Regions from separate parts of the Homo sapiens genome. Here region 2 is linked to region 1. The links are contacts of gene promoters, found by promoter capture Hi-C in blood cells and fetal thymus (Javierre and others, 2016). All regions are on one chromosome and are shown on one strand. Each heading gives the region's core, a stretch centred on a gene start or on the middle of the fragment in contact. The rest is flanking DNA. Distances are from core to core; before and after follow the strand shown.

Region 1 (3,676 bases), core at 1,044-3,543:
TTGTACACGGAGGGTCAGGAATGAAAGCAAGAAGACCCAAGGGCCCCTCTCCACCACTTTCCTTACCAGAGTTCAGATTCCCAAACTTTTGCTTCCCTTATATTATTTTCTTCAATGGACTCTAATTATGAAAGGAATACTTACAGGAAAGCAAGCTTACTAAATTTGGTTTTCCAAGTTCTTACTGATTACATATTAATCAAATTATTAAACCTTATACTTTATGTGAAATGGAGGTTAACTCATTAAACTGATAAAATTCCATCTAAGATCAAAGGAACTTGAATGCTGCTAAAGGTATATTTAGAATAAACTAAAGAAATCTTAGCCAAAAGAAAGTGTATGTATCTAATCTTTAGAGAGGCTTTCAAATGTTGCTTTAAGCTACTTTTATTAACAAAACTGCATTTTGAACTCCACTGCTTGACAACTATGGCCTTTGTTTCTTAAGTCAATTCTTACCTTTCTGGGGCCTTGGTTTAACTACTTCCTTTGTTTTAAGGACACAAAGCTTGTCAGTTCTCAAAATAAAAACCTGTCTCTCTGGTCAGATCATTAACTCCCTAGTCAAACTTTCAGACTACCGTCTGAACATCAAGTGCTAGCCTGAGCTTGTTTCCAGTCCCCCAACCCCAGGCTGTGGCTGGGGAAGGAAGAGGACAGCGAAAGCTTTCTCTGCTCCCTCGGGAGACAGGAAAGCCCTTTATTTATTCCTGCCCTTCCTCTTCTCCAACTGAAGAGTGTGATCTTGGTACAGAGCAGTTCCACACATGCCACACTGGTCTGATCTTTTAGAGTAAAAAATGGGATCTTCTCAGAGAAAATTTTTTTAAAAACTTCATGTGCTTAGGTCTCAGAGCAGAGAATTTTGTCTTATCATGACGCCACTCACTGGCAAACAAGCTGGCGTGCACAGGGACTTGTGAGGCTCTCAGCAGAGTCAGGGTAGCAGTTATTTCCCTTTGACTGCCTCAACTTCCTATGTTTGTGTTGACATGCCAGATCCTTATTTCTGCGGAATGAGAAATCTCTTGAGAATAAAGTTTTCCTAAACAGAACAAAAGTATCAAATCACTTTTGATGAGCAAACATTATTTTAAACTTTTTTTTAACTTACAAAAGATGAGGGGTAACATTTACTAGTTTTACAGAAATTTTCTTTAAACAGAACATTAGTGAACCAAATAACCAATTCTCCTCAAACATGATAGACAGGATGGAGGTTATCACTTTGATCATTTTAACCTCCAACATAGTAATTTGTAAACATCAGTCGCTGCACAAGTATTTTAATAACAGGCCAGCCCACGGGAGTAAACAGCACCTTAGCCTCGAGACCTGTTCTCTCAACTGTGTGTACAGATTTTCTAAGTCGTTATGAATTCAGATATTCCCTACATCTCAATAAAAACACCTAGGAGAACAAGAAATCAGGACATGCATCTCCTGTAAGCAGAAGAGAAACCGAGCACCTGCTCTCTTGCGGGGGGGCAGCTTCGTGTCACTTTCCAACTCAGCCTCCACAGGAGCATGGGCATATTGGTTCAAATGAAGTGTAAAGGACACATCTCTGTCCACAGTGTAAATCCTATTTCCTTAAGGTGGTCAACCGATTGAGACCAGTTCCACACTTCCTTAAAGAAGGAAAAACTCAGCAGCCAGCGCCAAGGCCCAGCGATCAGAGAGGACCCGTGCTCGCCGCGACCCCGCGCTCGCCCTGTGGCCCCGCGACCCCGGCGCCAGGTGTTGGGGGGACCGGCCCTTCCCTTCCGGGTGTGAGGGGCTGGCCCTTCTCTTCCAGGTTGGGGGGCTGGCAAACTCGAACCTCGCCGGCGCCCTAGCCAAGGCCTCCTCCCCGCGCCTGCCGCGGGTTCCACGCACATTCCAAGCGCGCGCATTCGACCCAAACTTCAGAGACGCTTCTGTGGAACGGAAGGATGGTCGCTGACACCTCGCCGTTCAAATATCAGGAAGTTAAAAATAACACGACCATCGTCATCATTCCAAACTTCGGAATAGCTTTTCTAAAAATGGAAAAGACGGTGGCTAAACTTCAATCAAAATCGCTGTGGTCAAGAAAGTCCTGGAAGCTGCTCTATCTTAACTTTGGGCGGTTTGCGGTTAACAGACGCGCGACCTAGAAACCCCAGAGGCATCGCCGGTTTTCCCGTCCTCCTCCTCCCACCACCGCCCAGCTCTTGAGAGGGGAGGGTGCTGCCGGACAGGTGGGTCCCCGGGTACTCACTGCTGCCCGCCCGGCCGCGGCGCCCCGTCCCGAGGCTGCCCAGGAAGAGGAAGGCGCGCTGCCCCGCCCCGCGGACAAGGAGGCCCCAGCGAGGGCGTACCTGCGGCAGGTGACGAAGGAGGCGGCGCAAAACACCCGCCGTGTACGTTTCGCGGGACAAAAACCACGCGCCCGCCGGGCCGCGCTCAGGCCTTCGCCCTCAGGGACTTCGGAACCGCCCCGTCCTCAAGATCGAAAAGCCCAGAGCCCCGCGGCGGCTCCAAGCACGGTGTTGGGGGTGGGGGTCTCAGGGAGCGCCCAGGCCCAAGGCCGCCCTGGTCCGGCGTGGACCCCGCGGGGCTCAAGGCAGGTTCCCCGCGTGACCCGCCCAGCCCCTCTATGCGAACTCGAACGACAGGCACCACAGCCCGCCACGTGCGCGAGACTCGCGCTGTGCCCCAACCCAGGTGGGCGGCCCGCGGAGCCGCGAGGCCTGAGCCCGCCCTGCAGGTGACCCGCGGCCCTTCCTCCTCCAGGTACCCCTCTCCTGCGGCCCCGTCCCCTATAGGTAACCTTTACCTCCCGCGGCTCCTTCCCCTCCAAGCGACCCGCAGCCCCGCCCCCTCCAGGTGACTCCCCCCCGCCAACCCCCGCCACCACACACACACACCCCCTCGCCTTCCGCGGCCCTACTCCCTCCAGGTGACCCCACCCCCGCAGCTCCTCCTCCTCCGGACAACCTGCAGCCCCGCCCCTGCAGGTGAACGGCGGCCCAGTCCCTGCAGGTGACCCGCGGACCCTCCCCGCCCGTCCTACTACCGTCATAGGACCGCCTCCGCAGGCGCACTGGAGCCGATTGCGCAGGCGTGGCTCTCACACGCGCTGCCCTGTTGGCGTTGGTGCGGGACTGCGCAGGCGCGCGGGGCAAGAGGGTGGCAGTGCGCCTGCGCCGCGTCGGCGTGCGGAACGCCGCGGTGTCTCGGCGCCTCTGCGCGCGGGAAGATGGCGGAACAGGCTACCAAGTCCGTGCTGTTTGTGTGTCTGGGTAAGAGGGCGCCGACTTACTCATGTTCTGACGTCCTCTGGAGAGTTGGATCGGGCTTGTGCGCTGTAGGTTGTGCCGCCGGCCTAGGAACCATGAGGGGGAGGAGGCCAGGGACTGGGAGGCCTAGGGTGTTCTAGGAGTGTGCCGCAGCGCCCCTGTTCCCCATCCGCCCCGTGCACCCGCCCAGCCTGCCCGCTAAACCTGGGTCCCCTCGCGCCTGCCATATATCCGGGGCTCTTGGCATCTGCAGCCACAGCCCCTACAAGCCAAGGTACTTTCTTTGCGACTACTAGAATCCCTCTCGTTCCCCTCCAATGGGCCCAGGTAGGCCTGGAGGTTGTCGGACTGATGTGGTCTCTTAGGGGCCTCCTGAGTCCTATGACAACATTGTTTTGTTTGCTAGTTTC
Region 2 (3,563 bases), core at 995-3,494, 1.3 Mb after region 1:
GTTCCACCTGCCATAGGACACCGCCCGCCCCCTCTCCAGACACCTGCCTCTTCTCTTCTGCAGCTGACAGCAGGGCTTCTCCTGCTGGGTCTGCAGGCCTCCATCAGGCCCTGGCTTTGGGGGCTCACCCCAGCCCATCTCATGCAGCACTGTTGGTGCAAAGGTGTCCCTGCTCCAGGGCTGGGCTCCTGTAGACCAGCAGAGGCTGACTGAGCTGGACCCGTGGGCTGGGGGACTTTGACCTGGTTCTGTTGAGTCAACTGACCTGCCTGAGGGTACTGCTACTGCTGTCACCCAGAGTGCAATCAATCACAGGCCCTGTGCCCGCATTTCACAGCTAAGGAATGGCAGATCCTGTGCGGGGAGGGAAGGAAGGAAGGGAGAAATGGAGGGAGGGAGGCAGGGAGGAAAGTGTACAGGGAGAGACAGAGCGCAGGGCTGCTGGATGGAGAGACCTGGACCGGGCCAGGCTTGGCCGTGTGAGGAGCGCCTGTCCTTCTAGGGACCTTGGAGATCAGGGAGCAGGCTGCTGACAAACGACTTATTTCTCCTCCCTCTGAACTCCCAAATTCCCAGAAATCTGCCTCGAAAGTGGGGAGAGCAGAGAGGCTGTGAGGTTGGACCGAGGGGGCCCACGGCCTCACCCTCCTTCCCACGTGGGCCACCCCTGGACGCTTCGTTCGCAAGCCTGATATTGTCCTAAGATGTGGTTTGATTTTTAAGGGCGGAGAGATGGGCTCAGCTGCTGGTGGAATCCAGCCCCTCCGTCTTTGCGGGATGTGGGGTCTCTGCCTCCTGCAGTGACAGCACCGGCATGACCCAGCCTGGCTTCCCGCTCCCAAGCGCGGGCACCTGCGGCCGAAGACGCGGCTCCGCAGCGCCACCTAGTGGCCGCCCAGCCTCTCCCCAAAGCGGAGCCTTAGGACGAAGCTCCCTTTCCCCGAGGTCCCTGCAGGTTTCTGTGGAGCCTGGGAGTCTGAATTACTGTCTCCCGGGTGATTCCTAACCCTGGAAACTCGCTGCTGCTCCCTGGGGCTGGTGGTCGTGCCAGTTGCTGCGTCAGAGCAGTTGGGCGCCCACAGGCTGAGGACGCCGGGGCCAGGGTGAGGGTGAGGCTCCACCTCAGGGCTCCAGAGACCGAGTTTTGCACTTGACACTTCCTTAACCTTCGAAAGCCTGATTCCTTCTTATCGCCCTGAGGGCCTGAGGTCCCCTATCTGCATGATGGAGGGGTTGGATACCATGGTCTTGAAGACCTTCCATTCCTAGGGTGACAAGATTCTAACCACATTGCACATGGAACACTTCTCGGTGCAATGACCCCAAACAACATCCCAGCCTGTGCAGTTCCCACTCCCAGAGATCCGAAAGTCGGTGGGTGACGACCCACGTGTGAAAGGGGCTCTAGAGAGCTGCCTACAGTCTCATGTCCCCCCACCCACCGCCCTCCGTGTGCTCAGCACCTGAACGTCTTCACAGAGACAGGGCAGAGTCTGTTTAAAAGGAAGCTCCGACAGTCTCCCTACGAAGAGATGGCCGCCACCTCAGGCACGTGGGATATTTCTGGGGATGGAATTGTCGCAATAATGAGGAAATCCCCTGTGGTTTAATGGGCAGAGTCCCAAAGGTGCTTGACATCCTGACCAGCACAAGGCAGCCCACCTCCTGCAGAAACTGTGAAAAAAAGGCAAGAAAAGTATACCCATAACTAATTTGAGTGGTTGTAATGTACACTGAAACAAAAAAGTCTTTTCAATTTTTTTTTCTTTTTGAGATGGAGTCTCACTCTGTCGCCCAGACTGGAGTACAGTGGCACGATCTCGGCTCACTGCAACCTCTGCCTCCCAGGTTCAAGCTATTCTCCTGCCTCAGCCTCCCTAGTAGCTGGGATTACAGGTGTCTGTCACCATACCAGCTAATTTTTGTATTTTTAGTAAGATGAGGTTTCACCATGTTGGCCAAGCTGGTCTCTAACTCCTGGCCTCAGGTGATCTGCCCACCTCGGCCTCCCAATGTGCTGGGATTACAGGTGTGAGCCACTGCACCTGACCCTTTTCCCGATTTTAATTGCACTAAACTTCCATAGAATGCTGACAGCGCATAAACATGATAATGTGTCTTTGCAATTTTCAAGCTTAAATACTTAGAATCCAAAAATATGATGAAGTGTGGAGTTTATTTGAACACGAAGTTGGAGGATAGTCACATAGGAAACACAGACTCTCAAAATGGAAAGTTAAAGTCTCATTTACATAGTCAGAGGCAGAGGTTTAACAGGTTGCAGCATTTTCCAACAAGATCAAGACATAGGTTATAGCGATTTGACTTGATTGGTCACAGCTCGCTACACTAAGGAAGCTTGTTTTAACATCCCATAAGGAAGGGTAATGGTCTTGAGGCGGTCTCACCTCTGGTACCATTCAGTCTTTCCTAATCATTACAGGACAAGAATGAGGAAGAGATTTGACCCAGAATAAAGAAGCAGAAGGTGCAGCTTCACACCATGCGACGCAGGCCCCACAGCCACGTTCCTCTCAAGGCTCAAAATCAGGTACGGTTCCAACAGCTTTCAGTTTGGATTAATTTCACATCTCCCCTTTTCAACATCAACATGATCCTTTTGAAGAAAGCTTAGTAGCTGAATGCAGATGGTTTGGGAATCTCTGTATGTTTAGGGGCTTAGCCCCAGATACTTAGGAAGGTTCACTCCTAGGACGTTGTCTCCCATGTCTAGGGCCATGTGCCAAGCTGTACAGAACTGACGGGGCATAGGCCGAACCTGGAGCCACATGAAGGAAGTGACGTGGTGACCTTGGTCAGGCTACACAGCTGCATTGTCCGTTAATGGGATTCTGTGAGTGACGATTATTTTAGTATCTTCAGTTGTGAACTGACTCCATTGCACACCAATGCCAGAGCAGGGAAGACAAAACAGGCCAGAACCCAACCAACGATTGATTAACAGCTGCTTCTGCCAAGTTCCCCAAGACCTAAACCAGCTGCTTAACCAACTGTGTGGAGAGGTTTTGGATCTGAAAGTTTTGTTATTGGGTTTTCATATCGGTAATTAATTTAGGGACATTATCTGATTCATCTGGGTTAGGGACATGACGTTCAGTCTTTGTGATGGTGCAGGTTCCCTCTGGGGCTGCAGTGAGTCTGTCTAAGGCTATACGAGCCTGTAATGCAGCCTTTCTCATAAAAGCATCTTCATTGTTTATTAACATGACACGTGGCTATCATTCAGGGCCTTTTTCAGTTAGGAGGTACACTGTCCTTCCCTTCTGGGCCTTACCTCGTCCTCCTAGAGGACCTTTTATAATTCTGGTCACTTGAGAAGGAAGTTTACATTTGCTTATTGAATTGGCCTTCAGAATCTGGCCAGTTTCAAACATTACAAATTTTGCTCAATCCACATAGCTTCAATTTCTCTTTTCAAAGAGAAACTGTTTTCTTCCTGACCAAAATTTCAAATGGGACAAAAGGTTCTAGAAACTCTAATGAATAATTCAAAACAGAACCTTAACTTCAAAAAAAAATCAAAGTCTTGAATCTGGGGTCAG

What was found. Contacts are between HindIII fragments. The CHiCAGO score rates a contact against its expected background, and 5 or more counts as called.
Region 2: a fragment that was not itself captured here is called in contact with the fragment with the promoter of SH3YL1 in region 1 in 1 of 17 cell types (total B cells); the score reaches 6.4 in total B cells.

What each region holds. Positions count from the first base shown.
Region 1 is chr2:261,739-265,414 of GRCh38, forward strand. SH3YL1 (SH3 and SYLF domain containing 1) reads right to left here and starts at 2,294. Exons shown (of 10, transcript NM_015677.4): 1 at 2,246-2,294. The coding sequence starts at 2,246. ACP1 (acid phosphatase 1) reads left to right here and starts at 3,209. Exons shown (of 6, transcript NM_004300.4): 1 at 3,209-3,269. The coding sequence starts at 3,227. RefSeq lists silencers at 2,190-2,769, 2,840-2,919 and an enhancer at 3,270-3,319. The HindIII fragment of the contact is 12,050 bases long and covers 668-3,676 here.
Region 2 is chr2:1,550,004-1,553,566 of GRCh38, forward strand. All of the region lies in intron 4 of LALTOP (lung cancer associated lncRNA targeting TOP2A), which reads right to left. LOC102723730 (a long non-coding RNA gene) reads left to right here and starts at 1,927. Exons shown (of 3, transcript NR_168373.1): 1 at 1,927-2,551; 2 at 2,735-2,854. RefSeq lists a silencer at 807-916. The HindIII fragment of the contact is 224 bases long and covers 2,133-2,356 here.